Linked DNA regions of Homo sapiens: regions 1, 2, 3, 5, 6 and 7 are each linked to region 4. Evidence: promoter capture Hi-C in 16 types of primary human blood cells and fetal thymus (Javierre and others, 2016). All regions are on one chromosome and are shown on one strand. Each heading gives the region's core, a stretch centred on a gene start or on the middle of the fragment in contact. The rest is flanking DNA. Distances are from core to core; before and after follow the strand shown. Region 1 overlaps CCDC26 (CCDC26 long non-coding RNA). Region 2 overlaps CCDC26 (CCDC26 long non-coding RNA). Region 3 overlaps CCDC26 (CCDC26 long non-coding RNA). Region 4 holds the start of CASC11 (cancer susceptibility 11). Region 5 overlaps CCDC26 (CCDC26 long non-coding RNA). Region 6 overlaps CCDC26 (CCDC26 long non-coding RNA). Region 7 overlaps CCDC26 (CCDC26 long non-coding RNA).

Region 1 (3,191 bases), core at 179-2,678, 1.8 Mb after region 4:
AGATCCTATCATTTGTACAAACATGGATAGAACCAGTGTTCATTATGTTAAGTGAAATAAACCAGGCACAGAAAGACAAATATCACATGTTCTCACTTATCTATAGGAGTTAAAATTTAAAATTTAAAACTGAAGTCCTGGAGATAGAGTGTAGAAGAATGGTTACCAGAGGCTGAGAAGAGTAGTTAGGGGACAGGGGGAAGTGGGGATGGTTAGTATGTACAAAAAAAAAGAAAGAATGAAGAAGACCTGGTATTTGATAGCACACCAGGGTTACTATAGTCAATAATAATTTAATTGTACATTTAAAAATAACTAAGAGTATAATTGGATTGTTTTAACACAAAGGATAAATGCTTGAGGCAATAGATACCCTATTTTATCCAATGTATCAAAACATCTAATGTACCCCATAAATATATATACCTACTATATGCTCACAAAAAATAAAATTAAAAGGTTTAAAAAATATTAAAATAAATTTTTTTGAATATGCATTTGGTGTGGATTTATGAGAGACAGACTGAGATGTGTAATAGCATTAGAATTTATCATGAATGCCTGGAGGAATTTTGAGAGAGGAGTGACCCTACAAAGTCAGGCATTAGAAACTCTGTAAAGTATAACGATAGTTAGCCAGTATAGTGTGGACTCTGACTACAAGAATTTGAATAGTGACTGGGGTAGACAACCTCTATGATAGCCCCAGTGAGCCCCACCTTTTGGAATTTATGCCTTTGTCCTCTCCTTCCATCAAATAGAATGCAGCGAAGATGATAGGATGTCACTAGTGACATTAGGTTACAAAAGATTATGGCTTCTATCTTAGGTGTTATCTCTCTTTCTTTTTCTCTCTCTCACCTCTACTCCTCATGTGTGCATCTGCACATCATAGTTTCTATTACTCCTACTATCTTTTGCTCACTCTCTCTCAGATCACTAGTCCTGGGGAAAATTAAGTGCAATCTCATGAGACTACACTGTAGAGATAGCCACGTGTTCAGGAACCAAGGCCTGCTAAAAACCACATGAGAGAGATTAGAATTGAATTCCCCAACTCCCACAGTCTAGCTTCCAGATGAAACTGCAGCCCAGCACAATAGCTTGACTGCCACTGATGAGAGACCTTGAACCAAAAGCACCAGACAAGCTGTGCCCAGATTCTTTACCCACACATGTAGTGTGATTATTAGTGTTTGCTGTTTTAAGCTGCTAGATTTGGGGTAATTTGTCATGTAGTCATGTCGAAGTAATATATCTGCTATTCCATATTAGCCAGGTGGCCTTGGCCAAATTATTTAACTTTCTGGGCTTCAGTTTTGTCATCTGTAAAATAAGTCCTTAAAAATATCTAACTTATAAGATTACCATGAATTATAAATGAGATAATACATTTAAACTATTAGAGTAGTCCAGAGAACACATAAGTCTTCACTAAATGTTAGCTATTGCCTTTATAATAAATATTATAACAGATATTGGCATTGGTAGATAAGGTCACAACTAAGATGGGAGCTTACTTGGGAACTGAAGAGTTGCACATGTAAAAGAATACCTAACTAAAAATGCTTTAAGCCATAAAGTAAATTGTCAAGTTAACAAAACTGAGATCCAGAGAGGGAACTTAAGGACGATTATTAAGGCCTCTAAATCATTTTCTCTGCAATTTTCCTGACTCCTCCCTCTCTTGTCTTTCAGCTTGGTCCTTAGACTGGCTTCCAACACACAGTCAAGCAAACCACAGTAATCTTAGTCTTCATGCACTCATAACACAAATCCAACAGAGCTTCTCTTTGCCCAGGGAATCCAGTGTTTCACAGTGAGTGGGCCAACTTAGGTTGTAAAGCTATACATGGAAGGTTACACATGGACCTATCAGTTTGACCATGAGAAAGTACATCATTACCTGGATTAAATGTATTTCCTGCAATCAATCACAATGTGAAGATGTTAAGGATATGGTATTATATCCCATGAGGTATCATTGTTGGAAATGTGAGTGTGGCCAGTCTCATTGTAACACATGGTTACTGCTAATGGAGGAAACATAGAATGGGTTACTATGGAGGAAATAATAATGTCACACACAGGAAGGTATTTCAGTAGTCCAACTATGAGCTCAGATGATTTGCACTAGGGAAATCAGTAGCAATGGGGACAAAATAATCAATATGGTAAGTGTCACAGTTGAGAAGAAACGTTATAGAAAATATGGGTAAGTGTCAGACTTGAGAAGGAAGATTATAGAAACACAATAGAATTTGGTACCCAAATGAATGGAGTAGCTGAGGGAGAAAAGAGATTTGAAGAGTTCTAAGACCAGGAAAATGACAAGGAATTACACTTATCGAGCTAAAAGTCTCAGAAGGACAAGCAGCTTAAAATAGATGAAGAGTAATGTCACCAAGATGGAAAAATAGGAGTTCTCTGGCTGGGCACTGTGGTTCATGCCTGTAATCCCAGCACTTTGGGATGCCTAGGTGGGCGAATCACTTGAGGTCGGGGTTTGAGACCATCCTGGCCAACATGGTGAAACTTCATCTCTACTAAAAATACAAAAACTAGCTGAGCATGGTGGCAGGTGCCTGTAATCCCAGCTACTTGGGAGGCTGAGGCAAGAGAATTGCTTAAACTCAGGAGGTGGAGGTTGCAGTGAGCCAAGATTGTGCAAGTACACTCCACCCTGGGTGACAAAGCAAGACTCCATCTCAAAAAAAAAAAAGAATGGGAGTTCTCTGGCTTCATTTCCTCATATAGAAGTTCAACTAACAACTATCCACAGGCAAAAAAATACCATCATGAATATCTCAGAAATTGGGAGTAAGGTTGAGACATCCTCCTGGACCACAGAACCAAGAAAATCTATGATTAAACAGTAAGAGAAACAGTCCTCCTTGACCATGCTGCCCCTCCCCTAAGGTGTCACAGCACCACACAGAGAATTCCTTCCAAACTATGGTTTCTATAGGAGGAAAAGTGAGTTGGAAGTGGGCATTCAGCTTCCTCACCATTTTGGGACCTTTTGGGGACCTTTTTCGGACCTTTTTCAGGAGGCTCACTCCTGAAATGTTTCATGGGAAACATTGGGAGTACTGGCAGGGCTAGATCACCTGAGATCAGTTAGAAACAAAAATCATGGGTGGCATTCACAGTACCCAGTGTACAAGTGTTGGTGGTTGCTCTGCATTCCA
Region 2 (3,143 bases), core at 359-2,858, 1.8 Mb after region 4:
GGGGGTCATTGGAGACATAATGGGTTGCTCAGCAAGATAAGATATGTCCCGCTGCATAACGTATGTCCCTGAAAACATGAAGGCCTGAAGTTGAGAACAGTGTTTTGTTGACACTATGTGAACAGTTTCTAAAAGGAAAATGTTTTTGAGATTTTCACTGCACAAGATATCTGAGCCTAACTAAAAGACTCAATTGAATAGATAGAATAGGTTGTAATGTCAGTCATTTTAAAGAGTGAGGGGAATAGATCTCACCAAGTTTATATCTTGTCATATGATTTGGCTTTCATGGCCTAAATACAAATCAAGATGTACTAGATTCTAAAGCCATTTAATCTTGCCCAAGTATGTAAAGGGACGAGATTGGGAAAGCAAAGCATTCACAATATTTCAGCAGGAATCATTAGATATCTTGGACACTTTACACAAAACACAATCCTAATGAGTGAATCATGAATTAGTAGACCCTGAGAGCGAGGACTTCTCCTACCCCAATGTCAAGACAATTTAAACTTCATGCAGAACGTGTCTGGCTACAAGAGTTCCGGCTTTTGCCAAACCTCATAGAATGAATTGGAACCATTTTACAGACCTCTACATTCTTATAGGGCTCCCCACCCTGAGCTCCGGTCCCTCTAATGCTGTGTTTCTGTGTGGATGATAGCTCTTGGGGCCTCGGGTTTGATTCAGTGCATGCCAGGACTTGGAGACATTTTAAACAAGTTAGAATCCATGTGTTGCCTTCAATTAAAGGTTTTGTAAGGCAAAGGGACACCAACTCAGCCACCAAATATTTGGGTCTGGGGAAGTTTCTTCAACCTTTCTGACAGGCCAAGTGTGATGTGGCAAGCCTGGCTCCTGTCAAAAGCAATGAATGAGACAGAAATGAACATTGTGAAAATTAGGCTTGTCACCAACCTAAGCCACTGAACATTCAAATGCGTGGCATGCAAAGTGTGGTTTGAACATCATAGCCTGGAAAGCAATAAGAATTCTTGGTAGGATTTGGGTAATTATGAGAAATGCTTGAAAAAAAATCAACCTCAATGTAAAAATGAATAATTAGAAAAATATCAATGGTCAGATAGAGGGTAGGAATCGGTAAAGAATATACAATTTCTATGTAGACTCAATATTGGTTTGCTTACCAAATTCATTCATTCTGTGAGTATTTACCCAGCCTGAACTTTGAGTGTATTTGGAAGTATTATGGAGGCTATAAAAGACTTAGATGTAAAGAAAGGTTTGAGTGAAGAGAGTGCACCAAAAACTCTAATACTAGTGAAAAGTCATAAATTTCCCAAAAATATCTATTTTCAAAGTCATCATTGGGTAAAGAGTATGGGGCTTGGGAAGTCCAGTATCTGACAGTCTTGGCTCTCCTATTTACGTAATACGTAACCTTGGATATTATGGTAAAGACTGACATGCAGTGCCTGGCATATTGCAGATATTCAATACGTTCTCAATGAATGGATGAATGAATTAGCAATGCTTCTTTTTTATTAGACAGAGTCTTACTCTGTCATCCAGGCTGGAGTGCAGTGGCATGATCACCACTCACCACAGCCTCAACTTCCTGGGCTCAGATGATCCTCCCACCTCAGCCTCTCAAGTAGCTGGGACTACAGATGCATGCCACCACACCAGGCTAATTTTTGTATTTTTGGTAGAGATGGGGTTTCTCCATGTTGCTCAGGCTGGTCTTGAATTCCTGGGCTCAAGCAATCCTCCTGCCATGGCCTCCCAAAGTGCTGGGATTACAGCAGCCATTGCACCCAGCCATGAGTGCTTCTTATGGGCCACACAATGTGCTAAGTGTATGCACATTCTCTCATGAATTATAAACACCCTATGAGGCAGCTACTACTATTGTTCCTATTTTACAAATAAGAAAATTAGAGTTTAGAGAGTTTACGTACCTTGCATAGGGTTGCACAGCTAGTGAGTAAGCAAGCCAAAACTCAAATCCAGCCTTTTTCATTCCAAAAACAGAATCTCAAATCTCTGTCTTAGAATAAATTGTTCTTATATGGAATAGGAATAGAAAAAAATCCCAGGAGAAACTGAGAAAATCAGTTTTACCTGAATCACCATCAAGCCTACCAGTTTCTACTCAACTGAGCTAGTTCACACAAGGTAAACAGCTACATGGACCTCTGAAGTTGACTTTATGGTGAGAAAGCATCCTTAGTCCTTATTAGAGGCTATGAGACAGGGACTGAGCAAGTAGCTTTCATACTTATTACCATAGTGAACCCTCCCCACAACCCAGGAAAGCAGGCATTGGTGCTCCTGTTTTACAGAAGCAGTAGAGACACAGTTTGAGCCCAGGCTTATCGAGATTATATCATAATACAAGTTCCATCCAACCCCAGGTAAAAATTAAAGGACTTGCTGGCCCAGATGATACTTTGCTCTCTTCTTGTTGAAGATCATGACCTTTTAGGGAAAGGAACATTTGCAAAGTGTGGACCTGCTATCAAAATGATACTGGTAACTGGGCTTTGCAGTGAAGATCACTGCTAATCATGTCAGAAAAAATGGGTTCCTGGAAGGGAAAGTCACCATCTCATCAATGACAAGGACAACAGCTGGGCAGGCAAACTGATGAACTAGACTTCAAATCAAAATTTTAGAAAAAGAAGGCCGGGCACAGTGGCTCATGCTTGTAATCCCAGCAGTTTGGGAGGCCGAGGTGGGTGGATCACTTGAGGTCAGGAGTTTGAAACCAGCCTGGCCAACATGGCGGAACCCCATCTCTACTAAAAATACAAAAATTAGCCAGCATGGTGGCAGGTGCCTGTAATCCCAGCTACTTGGGAGGCTGAGGCAGAAGAATTGCCTGAACCTGGGAGGCAGAGGCTGCATTGAGGCAAGATCGCACCACTGCACTCCAGCCTCAGTGACAGAGCAAGACTCCATCTCAATAATAATAATAATAATAATAATAATAATAATAACATTTTAAAAGAAGGGGCAAAAGTGATCCTGTACAACTGAAAACTAGAAAGAATTAAAATCATGAAAGACTCTGGAGACACACAGGAAAAGAAACAAAGTCAGCAGCATTGCCAAGAAGACGAAAGAAAACACAACAAACAATTCTAAGGCCTCTAGATGCTTCCATCCAACAAACATAC
Region 3 (3,189 bases), core at 28-2,527, 1.7 Mb after region 4:
CCTGCCTTGGCTCCAGACTATGGGTCAGCATGAGTTACACCATAAATGCTCAACAGATTCTTTGGTGCAATCACAACTGGCTTCACTGGGGATCTGCTCTGTCAGTCTTTGTCCCTAGAGTTGTGAACCTAGAGGGAAGTGGTCCCCAACCACAGCAATCACCGACAGCACCTGGGGAAAGTGTGCAGTGGGCCAAATTGCCACAGAGCAGAACACCTGTCACTAGACGTTGCTCTGAAGTGGAATGCTGTTCGGCATCCTCTTGACAAAGTCTCTCAGAGAGTCTTCTGCCTCTGTTATTTCTACTCAGGCTAGAGAGAACCTTTCTTGATATTCTTGCATGTAACCTCTTTAGACCGACAACACTCTTATTTTACCTGCAACTTGCAGCTCTTCAAAGAGATTTTACTTGTGATGTTTTGTCTGTTACATGGAGGAAATAGAGCACTGAAGGTCATTAGGACAGGACTTAGGCTTCCCATTAGCTGGGTCAATGGGAGAGCTAAAGCCTGGCGAGATTAAGAATGTATCTCAAAGGGAAGGTTATTGTTTGAATGTGTTCCTCCAGGCTCGTGTGTTAAAACTTGACCCTCAGTGCAAAGGTGTTGAGAAGTGGGGACTTTAAGTGGTGATTATGTCATGAAGGCTCTGCTCTCAAGAATGAATTAACGCCATTATTGTGGGAGTGGATTCATTATTGGGGGAATGGTTTTCTTATAAAAAGATGAATTTGATCCACTTTGTCTATCTCCCACTCTCTCTTTGCTCTTCCATTATGAGATGATAAAGCAAGAAGGCCCTTATCATATGCTGGCCTCTTAATCTTGGACTACCCAGCCTCCAGAACTGTGAGAAATAAATTGCTGTTCATTGTAAACTACCCAGTCTTCGGTTTCTGTTACAATAGCACAAAACAGACTAAGACATTGTTGAAACATTTACAACTCCTGCCAAGAATAGTTTGGTTCTGTCCAGCAACATTGAGAATGTACAACCTCTATAAACTGGTAACTCCATTTCCAAGAATGTATTCTTTAAAAAATTCTCAAGTCCACAAGGTACCAGATTATTTCTTGCAATTTTTTTCATAGTGAAAAAGACAGAAACAATATAACTGTCAATTACATGGGGGAATGAATTTAAAATATGTTATATCAATATGGTGGAATATTATGCAGCCATTAAAAGAACTAAAGCAGAATGTATATATCCATAAGGACAGAATTCAAGAAATGTAGGGCTGAAAATTGAAACAAATTTTGGAATGATTACAGGATATGATACATTTTTATAGCTTAAAACAAAGCTAATATTATATATCAGATTTGGCAAACTTTTCTATAAAGGACAAAGAGTAAATATTATAGGTTTAGTAGGCCACATACAGACTCTGTAGTATATTATTTGTGTTTGTTTGTTTTACAGCTCTTTAAAGTGTGACAACCATTCTTAGCTTGGAATCCTTACAAAAGCAAGTCATGAATTGGATTTGTCTCACAGGCCATAATCTGCTGATTCCTGCTACGTACTGGTTGATACACGTATTTGTACATAAAAGTATAAGAAAAGATAAAATATATACAGAGAAGACTATATATACTGTATACCTCTATATAGAGTTAATAGTACTTACCTCTGAGGAGACATGGAAGACAACAGGAATGGGATGTAGGACATACAGTCACATTTATTTCATTTATTAAAGATCTAAAGCAGATATGAAGAAAAACCATTACCAATTCAGTTTTAGATAATGGGTGCAAGATACTTTGTTTTTATTATTCTTCATGATTTTCTGCTTAAAAATATTTTCCAAATAAAAGAATGCATAAGAAAAAAGCAGTCATTCAAGTCTTTTGTTCAATATCACAGCTCCTGCTTTGCTCGGATGCACAATGTTACTCAGATAACTCATTCATTCTTTTTTGCATGCAGCAAATATTCACAGAACATATACCCTGAATCAGGAGCTCTGCCTTGTGCTGTGAGAAGTATCAGATTCAGTCAGACATGCAGATGTGGACCCAGCCCTCAAGAGGCTGAAAGTCAGAAGACTCACACCCCCGTAGCACCACACACAGCAAGCAATGACATTTGCCAAGAGAAATGCTCAGGCCACGTCCTGTGGGCACTCATTGCTGCATCATGAGAGGCCCAAACTTCCGCACCTGGGATGCTAGGCCTGGCATCAAAGATAATGGAAAGACTCTGCATAGGTATGAGCAAGAACATGGTATGAGCAGGGAGGTTCTTTGTTCGTTAAATTTTATTTTTAAGTAGTATATTTGTGAATAAGAGAAAAGAGAGACACAAAGCAGAAAGACAAGCCAGACATGCAGAGCTTTTGAGAAGGGTGGAGTACTGGCTGCCTTGGGGAGGCAGCTGGAGGCTCTGAACACCCATTCCCAATAGCTATTGCCAACTGAGGCAGCTGAGCAGGGGCCCAAACTGGGAGAAATCCCACTTAAAGAAAAAGAAGCCACGGGAAGGGGAGGACACAGCAGTTGCTGGATGGGGACTGAGGTGCGGGGTGTGAGTGATCAGAGCAAGCAGGAGGGTCCATGTGCAGACCCCGGGGCTAAGGCCTGCCTCATGGCAGCTACCATCAAAGCCAGGCTTTGATTGTTAAAAACAATTCACCTTTCGAGAAGAATTTACAGGAGCATGGAAAGCACAGGAACGTGCCAGTAGCTCACTGGGCAATGCCATTTGTACATCTAAATCCTCATTTGTGCAGCCCATTGGCAAAGATTCTGACTCCACGTGCTTTGGCCAAGAGGATTTCTTTCTGAAGCTGATGCAACATGTGCAGAGCCTGGCCATTTGCCCAGCTTTCTTCCTTCTGTAAAGTCTGCTTTTGTTTTTATTGTTAATTTTGTTTTTTAATGTTTCTTTTGTCTTTTCTCAGTCTCCTTGTCTAGAGGCACTATGTGGCCTCTGTCAGTTGCTCTGATATTTCCAGCCAAGTCACAAAAGCACAGATGTAAGAGGAAAATCCAAAAAAATCACTGAAATGAGGTATTTACTCCACAGTAGTCTCCTTTTCAGGGGCTATTCAGAGATGAGAGAATGAGCATGAAAATAATTTATAAATTATAAAGGAATATCCCCCAAAGGTACTATTCTTTTATTAAGTGGCATAAAGGAAAAAATAGAGCATCTCTAAACTCTGAGATATAACCAAGTAAA
Region 4 (3,157 bases), core at 590-3,089:
CTGAGTCCAGGGAGGTCGAGGCTGCAGTGAGTCATGATTATTCCACTGCCTTCCAGCCTAGACTACAGGGTGAGACCCTGTCTTAAAAAAAAAATTAAAGAAGAAAAAACTCTCTTTTCTTTTCTTTCTTTCTTCTTCTTCTTTTCTTTTTTTTTTTTTCTTTTTTTTTTTTTAGAGATGGCACGTCACCACATTGCCCAGGCTGTTGTCGAACTCCTGGCCTCAAACGATGCTCCCACTTGAGCCTCCCAAAGTGCTGGGACTACAAGCATAAGCCACCACACACGGCCTTTTCCTTTCTTTTTCTATTTCTCAATGGATTTTTCCAATGGACACGTATCACTTTGGTAGTTATACATGATACTAGTTGTAATCTCAGCCATTTTTCAACCCAGCAAATGTCTATTCTAGGTCAAATATGTCTCAAAAATTACTAAAAGAAAATCAGTTATGTCCTTTAACCTGGCTGAGGTCTGGCTTTGTTTTCTCTCATGTAAAAATGGAGATGGCACAAAACAACTCCAAGCTGTTACTTGAAAGTAACACCTCAGGTGATGTCACCAGCCTGAGGGAGAGTGAGGTTAAGTTCTGAACCCACAGGCATTATATCTGCCTGGGGTTCACATGCCCTACACTGGACTGGCATAATTTGAGAGTCAGATCCGAAGATGTGGTATATCCGCCATCTTTAGCAACTTTCAAAAACTACCCTATGAGGTCAAGCTGGACCTACTTTTGGTTTTGCCATTGTTGTTTGTTTGTTGTTGAGGGTTTTCTTTGAGGGGCGGGGAGTGCATGCCCCTGTGGAGAGCACTCATTTAGCTTCAATTAGAGTAATGCCAAAAGTGCCAGATTCCTGGGAAATCAGCCTACAAGGCTCCTGCGGGAAGGAACCTCCACTGCCAGAAGTCCTTAGGGCATCTAAGTGATCAGACACCGTCAGGGATTCTTTGCCCCGTAAAAACCTACTTGACCAGGGACACGTGCCAGGTAAATTTCCTTCACATTTACTTCAACCTTATTGCATACTCATTTTAGTATTAAAACCTTTAATAAAATGCTCCTATTCCTTCACACTTTTTTTCTATGAGATCTCAAATACCCCTTCTTGCTATTAAAAAAAATCACTTATTATTCACCAGCCCAATATTTTAAAAGTAAAAATAATAAGCCAAGGCCAGGAGCGATGACTCGCACTTGTATTCCCAGCAGTTTCAGAGGCAAAGGCCGAAGGATCGCTTTAACCGAGGAGTTTGAGACCAGCCTGGGCAACATGACCAGACTGCCTCTCTACAAAAAGTTTAAAAAATTAACCGGGTGTGGTGGTGCACTGCACTCCCAGCTACTGGGCTGGGGTATCAGGCTGAGGTAGGAGGTTTGCTTTGAGCCCGGGGGGATCGAGGCTGCAGTGAGCTTTGATTGTGCCACTGCACTCCAGCCTGGGTGACAGAAGGAGACCCTGTCTCAAAAATAATAAGAATAATAATTAATAATAATAGGCCAAACCAAATACCCATCACCTTCTGCTGTGCCTCCCCTTTCCCCAATAAATCCAGTGTCTTGCTTTCAAATTTTGTGGTTAAAAAAGATGATGAGTTTCTAAGACGTGGGGGCTAAAGCTTGTTTGGCCGTTTTAGGGTTTGTTGGAATTTTTTTTTCGTCTATGTACTTGTGAATTATTTCACGTTTGCCATTACCGGTTCTCCATAGGGTGATGTTCATTAGCAGTGGTGATAGGTTAATTTTCACCATCTCTTATGCGGTTGAATAGTCACCTCTGAACCACTTTTTCCTCCAGTAACTCCTCTTTCTTCGGACCTTCTGCAGCCAACCTGAAAGAATAACAAGGAGGTGGCTGGAAACTTGTTTTAAGGAACCGCCTGTCCTTCCCCCGCTGGAAACCTTGCACCTCGGACGCTCCTGCTCCTGCCCCCACCTGACCCCCGCCCTCGTTGACATCCAGGCGCGATGATCTCTGCTGCCAGTAGAGGGCACACTTACTTTACTTTCGCAAACCTGAACGCGGGTGCTGCCCAGAGAGGGGGCGGAGGGAAAGACGCTTTGCAGCAAAATCCAGCATAGCGATTGGTTGCTCCCCGCGTTTGCGGCAAAGGCCTGGAGGCAGGAGTAATTTGCAATCCTTAAAGCTGAATTGTGCAGTGCATCGGATTTGGAAGCTACTATATTCACTTAACACTTGAACGCTGAGCTGCAAACTCAACGGGTAATAACCCATCTTGAACAGCGTACATGCTATACACGCACCCCTTTCCCCCGAATTGTTTTCTCTTTTGGAGGTGGTGGAGGGAGAGAAAAGTTTACTTAAAATGCCTTTGGGTGAGGGACCAAGGATGAGAAGAATGTTTTTTGTTTTTCATGCCGTGGAATAACACAAAATAAAAAATCCCGAGGGAATATACATTATATATTAAATATAGATCATTTCAGGGAGCAAACAAATCATGTGTGGGGCTGGGCAACTAGCTAAGTCGAAGCGTAAATAAAATGTGAATACACGTTTGCGGGTTACATACAGTGCACTTTCACTAGTATTCAGAAAAAATTGTGAGTCAGTGAACTAGGAAATTAATGCCTGGAAGGCAGCCAAATTTTAATTAGCTCAAGACTCCCCCCCCCCCAAAAAAAGGCACGGAAGTAATACTCCTCTCCTCTTCTTTGATCAGAATCGATGCATTTTTTGTGCATGACCGCATTTCCAATAATAAAAGGGGAAAGAGGACCTGGAAAGGAATTAAACGTCCGGTTTGTCCGGGGAGGAAAGAGTTAACGGTTTTTTTCACAAGGGTCTCTGCTGACTCCCCCGGCTCGGTCCACAAGCTCTCCACTTGCCCCTTTTAGGAAGTCCGGTCCCGCGGTTCGGGTACCCCCTGCCCCTCCCATATTCTCCCGTCTAGCACCTTTGATTTCTCCCAAACCCGGCAGCCCGAGACTGTTGCAAACCGGCGCCACAGGGCGCAAAGGGGATTTGTCTCTTCTGAAACCTGGCTGAGAAATTGGGAACTCCGTGTGGGAGGCGTGGGGGTGGGACGGTGGGGTACAGACTGGCAGAGAGCAGGCAACCTCCCTCTCGCCCTAGCCCAGCTCTGGAACAGGCAGACACATCTCAGGGCTAAACAGACGCCTCCCGCACGGGGCC
Region 5 (2,897 bases), core at 159-2,658, 1.7 Mb after region 4:
CCATCATTCACCAATCCCTTTTTATTGAAAAATATCAGGAACTGTGGGACAACACATAAGCCATATTCACTTATTTAATAAATATCTTATTAAGTGCCTACTTGAATTTTGCTTTTAATATCAGCAGTCAAAAATAGAGCCAGTGGTCAATCTGTGTTTGAGGCACTGACCATCTGCTTGGCTCTCTTAAGTTGTATAATTATTTGTTTGCAACATTTTGAATTATAGTAAGCACAAGAAATATGGGGGATTTGTTGGCACCAAGGTAATGGTGATACTGGAAAGTTGAATAACTTCTTCCAGCTTCCTTTAATTTTTGTCAGAATTCAATTCCCAATATCCCCCAGAAGTCCGTAATGATAACAAGTATTGGGAACTGATTAATAAAAGCAGAATTGTCTCAGTCATTGTATCAAACCCCATTTCTTGCAGTGAGGATAGATCTGCCTAAGGGGGCAGTTGCAGGGGAAAGAGGAGCCCCCATTTAGCACTAGAAAATTGAGATCCCATTTTCTAGTGCCAGAAAAATCTGAGGCCCTACAGAGTAGGCAGGAATGCCTTGTCTTCATATACTCCTCACCTCAAGTCATAGTTATCTCTGTCATCTTTTTCCAATTCACAGTTCAAAATCAGTCATTTATTTATTCATCGAATTTTGGGGGTAGGATCTAATATATGTCAAGCACTGTTCGAGTTGCTGGGAACATTGCAGTGAACAGAAGAGAGCAACTCCCACCTCCATGGATCTCATGTTCTCCTCTCATCCCTGGGAAGCCTTGGATGCCCTGCCTCTCCATTGAAAGCCCATGCCTCCATCCAAGGTACCCTGTGGCACTACGTGACTCACTTTAGACAGCCCTTTACGTGTTTTATGTTTGTTTGTTTTGCCTTTTTTTCTTTTTCTGAGACAGGGTCTCACTCTGTTGCCCAGACTAGAGTTCAGTGGGACAATCTTGGCTCACTGCAACCTCTGCCTCCCAGGCTCAAGCAATTCTCCTGCCTCAGCCTCCCAAGTAACTGGGATTATAGGCGCACACCACTACCTGGCTAATTTTTGTGTTTTTAGTAGAGACTGCATTTCACCATGTTGACCAGGCTGGTCTTCAACTCCTGATCTCAAATAATCCACCCTTTGGCCTCTCAAAGTGCTGGGATTATAGGCATGAGTCACCGTGACCGGCCTCATGTTGTATTTTCATTAGGCGTGCAATGTCCATCTTCCCTTCTAAACTTGGAGCTCCTCAAGGACAATTAGCAAGATTAGTTTTCTCCATGTCATCTATGCCTAACATAAAATCTATCATGTAATAAGCACTCAGTCATTGCCTTAACTGTCTTCTTTATTTGTCTGATTTCAACTCTGCCTGCTGTGATAAGGTAAGTGTTAATTGTCCCTATTTAAAAGTGAGAAAAGTGAAACTTGAAGGTTTTAGTATCTTGTTCAAGAATACACAGCTTCTAAGACAGAAAGCCAGCAAATAGACCTAGCATGGCCAAATTCCCATCCTATGGTAAAGCATAGTCCCAGAGCAATCTTCAACAATTCTTGTGTTCAGCAAACACTTATCAAGATATGCCTTATAGAATTTTGAGCTTGGGGAGCTTATAAGAAAAGAAACCCATAATATCCCTTTCTTCCTGATCAGTTACTACATCCAGAATGTTAACTTACACCTCCCTCATACATTCAACTCTCTGGGCACAGCTATTCACTGACAGAGAAAGATTGATAAGATACATCCAAAAGATAAAAAAGGCTTCAATTGGCTGTCAGAACTTTAATTAAAACACTTATAGATCAACTTCACTCCAGCAAATTGTCTGTGCCACTATTACTATAGTAAGATGAATGTTCACTGGGAAAACAGAGTACTCTGCCCTGGACTAATGTGTAATTTCATAGCCATTGATTTTTTTACTTTAAAAATTCTTCCCTGACTATTGGGAATTGGAACTTGTTCTGGGTGACCTGGCAGCAATGTTACATTTTTTTCTTTTATGAATGCGGAAGACCATTTCCTAAGCCCATTCATATTTTATCTTCATTGCCCTGACTCAAAACTAAACTGAAGTTGTATGAGATTGTTGAGGACCTCAGATGGAAGTTTCTGAGGACAAAGGATGGAAAGAGGAATTTGAGCAGCTAAAGGGAAACAGATGAGGAAAAGGAAAGGCCAGAGGAAGAAAATGAATAAGAAATGGGAAAGATAGGCTGGGCGCGGTGGCACACACCTGTAATCCCAGCACTTTGGGAGGTCAAGGCAGGCAGATCACAAGATCAGGAGTTCAAGACCAGCCTGGCCAATATGGTGAAACCCCATCTCTACTAAAAATACAAAAATTAGCTGGGCATCGTGGCGTTCACCTGTAGTCCCAGATACTCGGGAGGCTGAAGCAGAAGCATCACTTGAACGAGGGAGGCAGAGATTGCAGTGAGCTGAGATTGCACTACTGCACTCCAGCCTGGGTGACAGAGCGAGACTCTCTCTCTCAAAAAAAAAGGAATGGCCAAGATAACTGGAAAAGAGAGGTTGAGTATTTTTAATAAGGTTGTCATTAAAGTCTGAAAATAGACTTATTTAAATGACAATTTCAAGTAAAAATTATTACAAATTCATTAGGAAAGAATATTTTTAAAAATAATTCATCTAATTTACTAAGTAAACTTTTATAGAATGCCTCCTATGTACCAGGCACTAAGTTCATAGTATAAATTAGAAGTTAACTTTTACCCAGAAATTCATGGTACAAAAAAAAACTGTTTTTAAAATATTTGTCTAGTTTCTCCAAATATAGACATGGCTATATAGTCAGCTATATCTATTTCTTTTGTATCTGTGTATCCATACATACAGATATATGGACATAATTATACATAACAATAGAAGTTTAGGATT
Region 6 (3,343 bases), core at 517-3,016, 1.8 Mb after region 4:
GAACAATGAGAACACATGGACACAGGAAGGGGAACATCACACTCTGGGGACTGTTGTGGGGTGGGGGGAGAGGGGAGGGATAGCATTGGGAGATATACCTAATGCTAGATGACGAGTTAGTGGGTGCAGCACACCAGCATAGCACATGTATACATATGTAACTAACCTGCACGTTGTGCACATGTACCCTAAAACTTAAAGTATAATAAAAAATATATATATCACCAGCAATACAACTTTGTTACTATAGTCCTCATGTTATACAATTAGATCTCTAGACTTGTTCATCCTACATATCTGCTTTGTATTATATTTTTAAAATAACTTTTTAAGATGAATTTATTCTTTCACTTTGAATCATTTTAAGGTAGCCAATATTGCATAGAAATAAAATGTTTATGGGTTTAGCAAAGTTACAATTGACTTTCTCTTTGACCCATTAATTCTATTTCTAGAAATCTACCCTACAGAAACATTTGCAAAAGCATGAGATGACAAATGTGTAAGGTCATTCATTATAGCATTATTCATAAATCAAAACATTAAAAACAACTCAAGTGTTCAGCAATGGGGAACAGTTAAATAAACTGACACACAATGGAGTAACATGCAGCTATTCAAAAGAATGGGGACAGTATCTATGTAGTAATATGGAAAATTCATCTGAGTGTATTGCAAAGTGAAAACAGGAAAGCGTAGAAGAGTTATAATATGCTACCTTTTGTGTAAGGGAAGAAAATATGAACCTCTATATGTTTCATATATCTGCAAAAACAGGAGGACGAAAAACACAGAGAATGTAAACAAAAAACTAATAAAAGTAGTTACCTTATAGGAAATGCATTGGGAATATATGTAAGGGAAAGAGAAACAAAACTTCTTTGTGTATACCTTTCTATACCATCATGCCCTTTGAATAATGTGGGTTCATTATTCATTAAAAGTAAAGCTAATTTTTAAAAATATTTCTAAAATTAAAAATAAACCAAGACAAATAAATATAACCATATATCAATTTAGAAATATTATCACACAGAGAAACAATTATTTTTTCCCCAAGATGTTTGAGAACACAGCACTTTGTACATTCTTAGTGGGATACACTTCATGGACAAAAGAACTACATCAAATTTTAAACTAAATCTGACTATTTTATGTTCACATTCATATTGTTATTTTGAAACTATTCTCTTTGTATCATTCAAGAAAGCAAATGAGGAATTCTATTAATGGTGTTCTAAGAGAACAAAAGCCAATCATGAAATCAAAAATTAAGCATAAAACTAATGTTAAAATTGAAGTGATGACAGTTAAATGAACTTTCTGTTTTATTAATTACATATTTTCTGTCTTAATTCATTGAAATGGCCTAGCCACCATGTCATCCAGTATCAATAACCACACCTGGCACCAGATTTTGCTTTGTAAAATCAAGAGTTCTTGTAGAACTGGCTGCTTTCAGGACTGAATTAGGGAAGGTACAAAATACGCCTAGAACATATTGTTATGTTCAAAGGCAAAGAAGCTTTCAAAGAGTAATTGGGCATATCAAAAGAACACAAGAACCAGGTGGAAGGAGCTCTTGCTGACCCAAATTGTGATGATTGAAACACTAAAAAGAGTAGTGATTATAGCAAATTAAAATATACTGAATACACTAGAGCCACGAGTCCATAATGACTCAAAAAAGAGAAAGCCAGAAACAAAACCTCATTTGTCACCATTTGGAATGATTCTTAAAAACAATTTCTCCCTTTCCGAATTGGGAATTAAAAAGAAGTAGTTAAGTGTTTATTTTGCCTTTTCAGTAAAAACTCTATTTCAGGGCAAATAGACCCATTTATCACAGAAAGTTCTGTTTTATGTCAAGCAGTAAAGATAAAAGGAATATTAGAATTATGAAGTCGACAATTTACCACTCCCAATGAGAATCTTGTTTCAAGCATAGAAGGCTGTGCTGTTCCCACAAAAGAGTAAATAATTAAGTGCAGTCTGGGGAGGATCCGAGGAAGCTTCCAAGGAGAGGCAGTTTGGGCTGAGGCTTGAATGATGAACAGAATCAGCCACAACATGAATACAGGAGGACTTGTCAGATGGAGGGACATTATGGGGGGCCTGAAAAAGCTTGAGGAACTGCACTTACATTGGAAGGGATTGTTATCCACTTAAGATACCCAGAGTCAGCACAAAAACTGAAAATTGCAAAGAGTCAAATGTATCCTTACAAAGTCCCATTTTGGAAGGAGCTTTCTTGTAGCCCAATACACTGTCTCTCAGTAAGCCCATCACAGCCAGTTTCTCCACAGAGTTGTGATCAGATCACTATTTGAGAAATATGAAGCAGTTAACAATTGGAGGTGATGTTGTTCAAAGACAGCATGCTCTGAGATGCTCCCACTCTGGGGGGCATGTGGGGACTGACACCAATGAAGCGAAGAACAAGAGTCATAGCTGTCCTCTCTGGCTTCCTAGGGGCATATGGCACGATGAGTGGACCAGCTGCCCACGTTGACATTGCTCAGAGTGTTCATTGTTCTCTTGCTCTCCGTATCCCCATCCCCTCTTAGTTTAAGTTGAAAACATCCAGGTAGTCAGCCACTATTGCTGAGTATACATGATGCAAAGGTGCATGGAAAGGGACTGGAGGGACCAGGTCTGAGGGCCCTCTGGGAAGTAAAGAGAGAAGTGGGAAGGAGTCACATTAGGACGGGACTATTTTGCTAAATTAGCTAGTGTAGGCTTTGAAATAAAGGGAAGCCAATGGATGGAGTTTCAAGCAAGGTATGGCATGATAGGACCTGTGTTTTGGAAAGATTACCCTGGATTTATTGTGAAGAATGGCCTGGCGGCTGTGGGGATTCCAGGAAGGGGGAGAATGCAGACAAGCAAGGAGACTACAGGCATTATTGTCTTTACATCTGGCTTCTTTTTCAGGTCCTCCTTGAGAGGCCAAGCATCACATGAATTGGACATGAAGGCAAAATTTTTGATCTGAAGGGGGAAAGGATGCCATGTTTAGAACTCTGCACACAAAGGAGAGGCTATTTAGGGATCTAGATTCTCCAACCACAGAAAGTTGGCGGGTGAGAAGTGGCTGCTTCCCACTGAACTCCCCAGGGCAAATGAAGGGACCCACATGGCGTTTCTTCCCAACAACTTACCACAGACGTGGAAATTATAAATGGGGCCAGGAAGTGGTCATTTCATGTCAACCCACCTACCATACATTCAAAATAGCTGCCACTTGCCCAAAGACACCTCCAAATTCTAAACAGTCTGCCTAGCACATATCCATGTATACAACAAACCTTATTGAGCATCTACTATGGTAGGGACTGCACTA
Region 7 (3,361 bases), core at 805-3,304, 1.7 Mb after region 4:
AATGGGCATTTACAAATGTTAAAGAAAGCCACAGACATCCTAAGGCACTTAGATTTTTCAGTCTGCTCCTTCTTTGTCCATGTCAAAGGTTACCCTGAGAAAAGGCCCAATGACAGAAATTATCTTTCAGTGGCTCAAGACTTTTTGCATTTTCCTTATTTCCTTTCCAAAGAGTTTTCTTAAGTCAGTAGTCAGTGTATTTCTCCTGATATTATATACAAAGATGGTAAACATATATTCTCTTTTAAATTTTTGAACAATAATATCGTGATTAAAACTTGCAAAGAATTATTTATTTTTGTTTATTTCTGCTGTTGTTTATCTCAAAGGTTCCTTAGCTGGCCTACACATTGGAATCACTGGGGAGCTTTAAAAAAAATCTCACTTCCTGTGTCCTACTCCTATAAGATTGTAACTGAGATGGTCCAGGCATGGCCTCAGCTTTAGAATTTTTTAAAGATCCTCAGGTGATTCTAATGTACAGACAAGTTCAAGGACCCCATTAAATCTGGGTCTCATCATTAATTAATTAACCCTCTCTAGGGAGAGGGTAATCGAGCCTTCTGTACCCATGCCAGACTTCTTTCATAGCTCCCCAAAGCTTAATGTAGGGAAACAGAGAGAGCCAATAAACCATTACGGAGCCGGCCTCCATTTGGTGTGGAGTACAAATGATTGATTGATCTTTCGAGACTGTGCTAAGAGAGGCAGTATGAACAATTGCATCTCAGTACAGTGCACGGTAGGAAGGAAGAACTGATCCTTCAGCTCTGTGTTCCACAGAGCCTCAGAGTCAAAAGGGAACTCATGCAGGAGGCAAGAGGAACGGAGGTGAAGCATGAGCTGAGGTGCTGTTGAATTGTGCTGTGTGAAGTTGGTAGGAATCCACACAGAACTGGTTACCACAGCTGTGGTGTGGTTGAAATTAGTAACGAATGTCTCAAGACAAGCGAAGGTGAGAGGATCTTAAGTGGTTTGTTTAGAGGGATTCAGCACTGGTGAGAAAGTTTGGCTAATCTAAGCAGTTTAGGTCAGTTTAGCCACAGGTTGGTGTGCAGTTGTAGTCATGTGTAGTGACTGTTAAAATGACAGTGCTCAGGAGCTGCTTGTCTTTTAGGCTTCCTGTCTCAAACCTAAGGCAGTGCCGACTACTCATGGCTGGTTTGTTATTCTCTGCCCTCTCTTTCATCATTCCAGCTGGCCAGGTGGGTATTTGGATTCAGGGATTTTCATGGGGCCTGACTTTTTCCCTTTCTCTGTAGACACCTTATGAATGTCCCTTATAGTTGGATTGCGTGTGTGAGCACAGTGAGTGGATGGACTAGCAGGAGTATATGATACCATGTCAGCCCTGATTCTAAGTCATCTACTCCATTCCAGCTTTGACCAGAGGACCCTCCACTGAAGGTAATATAGCACTTATTCAGCTATGTTCAGTAATATTTCAATTACTATTTGGTCCTCATGCAGAATCTTATGGGTGAAATGATCATTGGTTCACATGATTTGGAAATAGCTGGGTCACTGACCATAATAGGACTGAAAGCTCACTCTCAAACTGTATTACAAATATGTAATAGCATCTACTATGTTTCCAGGAATGATGCTGGATGCCAATGATTTAATAAAAACCAGAGTTCTTCTTCTTAATGAAATTAGAAAGTAAGAAAGACATGAAAATAGATAATCAAAATTTGGAATTTGGTTGTTCTATTATAAGGGAGTATGAAGATTTGCAGAAACACAGAAAACAATTCAGTTTTCCTGGAAGAATCAAAGATGGTATCAAAGAGGCAACATTTGAACTGAGTCATAAAGGATGAGTTCTAATAACAGCTTTATTGTAGAACACTCTAGAAAACATAAAGTATTTCCAGATCCATCCTCTTAGCATGTAAGCAACTTAAAAGCAAAGACTGGTTTATCCTAGTCATGACTATATTTCCAAAGTATCTCTGTAATACTGAACCCATTATCAATCTTGATTCTCGTAGCCTCCTATGCACTGGGGAGATGGCAGAAGGGAAACATTCCAGACAGAGAAAATGAATGAACAAAGACAGAAAATTCATAACTCATGATCTCATGGAATTTTGACCTGTAGATATTCCAAGAAGAATCTCAGTAAACTCTGCCAGTGGCTATACTGGAAACACTAAGGAAAAAGACAACCGTCTGTCCTATATAACATCTCACAGTGTCGCATTTAGTACCTTAGTGAATTCATCAGGGCTCACAATCTGGTCCACATCTTTGTAGATTAATTTTTTAAAATGTTTATAGAAATCCAATCACTCAGGGCTGTAATTATCCTAGCCTGTGAGACTTGTAGAATGATAACTGATTAATTTGTAATGAGAAATTACCATTACAAAAACTATAGTATTAACTTTTCATGACCAGGCCATTCTACCTTTACCAATTTAGTAAATTACAGTTACAAATAATTGTCATGGTGACCAGAACATTCATATCTTCATCATAAGACTGTTTTCTCCCTGTGTGAGAGCAGAAATCGTAACAAGCAGACAGTTTAGTAAGCATAGAATCAGATGTAAAAGAGTTAAAGAGTTGAATGCTTAATAAATGTCAATTAAGATAGTCTGATGGCTTTTCCTTTCCATTGGGACAGTTGTACCCATGATATTGGAATATACAACATACTTTACCACCCTACCAATGGCCCCATATGAGGAGTTAGAGTAATCTAAGACTATTAACTAAGGCACTATCTCCTGGACAGTACTTCTTCCTCGTTTCCAATGTTCATTCAAACAAATTGCAATCACATTTTGCAAAACTGGAGGTCATTATATTCCTTCATGATGACTGTGGCAACACTGTTTGAGAACCTACTATGGGCTAAACATCTGCATTATCTCATTTAACCACAATCATGTGCAATATTATTTGTGCAGAAGAGTAAATCGTTCTTAGATCCATTAAATGACTTGCTCCAATAGAAACAGCATTAGATGGTAAAGTGAGGATTCTATCTAAGCCATTTGAAGTCCACTCAAGACTTCCACTAGACATTCATGTCCAAAGCCATTCACTTGCATAGAAAAGATATGCATACCTGACCAGATCACTAAAAAACATTAGGAAGCTATGATTGAATGGGTCAAATAGTACATACTGCAGGAGTTCAGAGAAGAGTGACATCATTGTGGGACAAGGTGGGAAATAGATAATATTTATTTGTGAAACATTTTCTTTCTTCTAGTGGTAGAACTTAAAAGGAAAATAAATGTAAGACATATCAGCCACCCTTCCCTCTTCCAACAACCATAGCAGAACTCTTTTTGCCTTAAGCCCAGATATATCACCTCAGAATCTTTCGAAAGACAGCAATCCACAA

The links. The method cuts DNA at HindIII sites, captures the fragments that hold promoters and counts their contacts. A CHiCAGO score of 5 or more calls a contact.
Region 1: a fragment that was not itself captured here is called in contact with the fragment with the promoter of CASC11 in region 4 in 1 of 17 cell types (neutrophils); the score reaches 7.8 in neutrophils.
Region 2: a fragment that was not itself captured here is called in contact with the fragment with the promoter of CASC11 in region 4 in 8 of 17 cell types (erythroblasts, monocytes, megakaryocytes and 5 more); the score reaches 17.4 in erythroblasts.
Region 3: a fragment that was not itself captured here is called in contact with the fragment with the promoter of CASC11 in region 4 in 1 of 17 cell types (neutrophils); the score reaches 5.8 in neutrophils.
Region 5: a fragment that was not itself captured here is called in contact with the fragment with the promoter of CASC11 in region 4 in 1 of 17 cell types (neutrophils); the score reaches 5.4 in neutrophils.
Region 6: a fragment that was not itself captured here is called in contact with the fragment with the promoter of CASC11 in region 4 in 4 of 17 cell types (monocytes, megakaryocytes, erythroblasts and 1 more); the score reaches 7.8 in monocytes.
Region 7: a contact is called between a fragment that was not itself captured here and the fragment with the promoter of CASC11 in region 4, in 1 of 17 cell types (monocytes). The highest score is 5.3, in monocytes.

Annotation. Positions count from the first base shown.
Region 1 is chr8:129,525,179-129,528,369 of GRCh38, forward strand. All of the region lies in intron 1 of CCDC26 (CCDC26 long non-coding RNA), which reads right to left. Among named protein-coding and RNA genes, the nearest start is that of MIR3686, 43 kb to the left of the region's middle. The HindIII fragment of the contact is 4,183 bases long and covers 1-3,191 here.
Region 2 is chr8:129,542,429-129,545,571 of GRCh38, forward strand. All of the region lies in intron 1 of CCDC26 (CCDC26 long non-coding RNA), which reads right to left. Among named protein-coding and RNA genes, the nearest start is that of MIR3686, 60 kb to the left of the region's middle. The HindIII fragment of the contact is 3,446 bases long and covers 1-3,143 here.
Region 3 is chr8:129,386,412-129,389,600 of GRCh38, forward strand. The region is part of intron 2 of CCDC26 (CCDC26 long non-coding RNA); the gene reads right to left. Among named protein-coding and RNA genes, the nearest start is that of MIR3686, 96 kb to the right of the region's middle. The HindIII fragment of the contact is 4,270 bases long and covers 1-3,189 here.
Region 4 is chr8:127,732,128-127,735,284 of GRCh38, forward strand. It overlaps CASC11 (cancer susceptibility 11), which reads right to left and starts at 1,840. Exons shown (of 4, transcript NR_117102.1): 1 at 1,698-1,840. RefSeq lists an enhancer at 509-1,010, a cis regulatory region at 590-3,157 and a silencer at 1,915-2,034. The HindIII fragment of the contact is 10,989 bases long and covers 1,618-3,157 here.
Region 5 is chr8:129,467,461-129,470,357 of GRCh38, forward strand. The region is part of intron 2 of CCDC26 (CCDC26 long non-coding RNA); the gene reads right to left. Among named protein-coding and RNA genes, the nearest start is that of MIR3686, 15 kb to the right of the region's middle. The HindIII fragment of the contact is 7,441 bases long and covers 1-2,897 here.
Region 6 is chr8:129,562,718-129,566,060 of GRCh38, forward strand. The region is part of intron 1 of CCDC26 (CCDC26 long non-coding RNA); the gene reads right to left. Among named protein-coding and RNA genes, the nearest start is that of MIR3686, 80 kb to the left of the region's middle. The HindIII fragment of the contact is 487 bases long and covers 1,524-2,010 here.
Region 7 is chr8:129,414,823-129,418,183 of GRCh38, forward strand. All of the region lies in intron 2 of CCDC26 (CCDC26 long non-coding RNA), which reads right to left. Among named protein-coding and RNA genes, the nearest start is that of MIR3686, 68 kb to the right of the region's middle. RefSeq lists a silencer at 901-1,195. The HindIII fragment of the contact is 2,911 bases long and covers 600-3,361 here.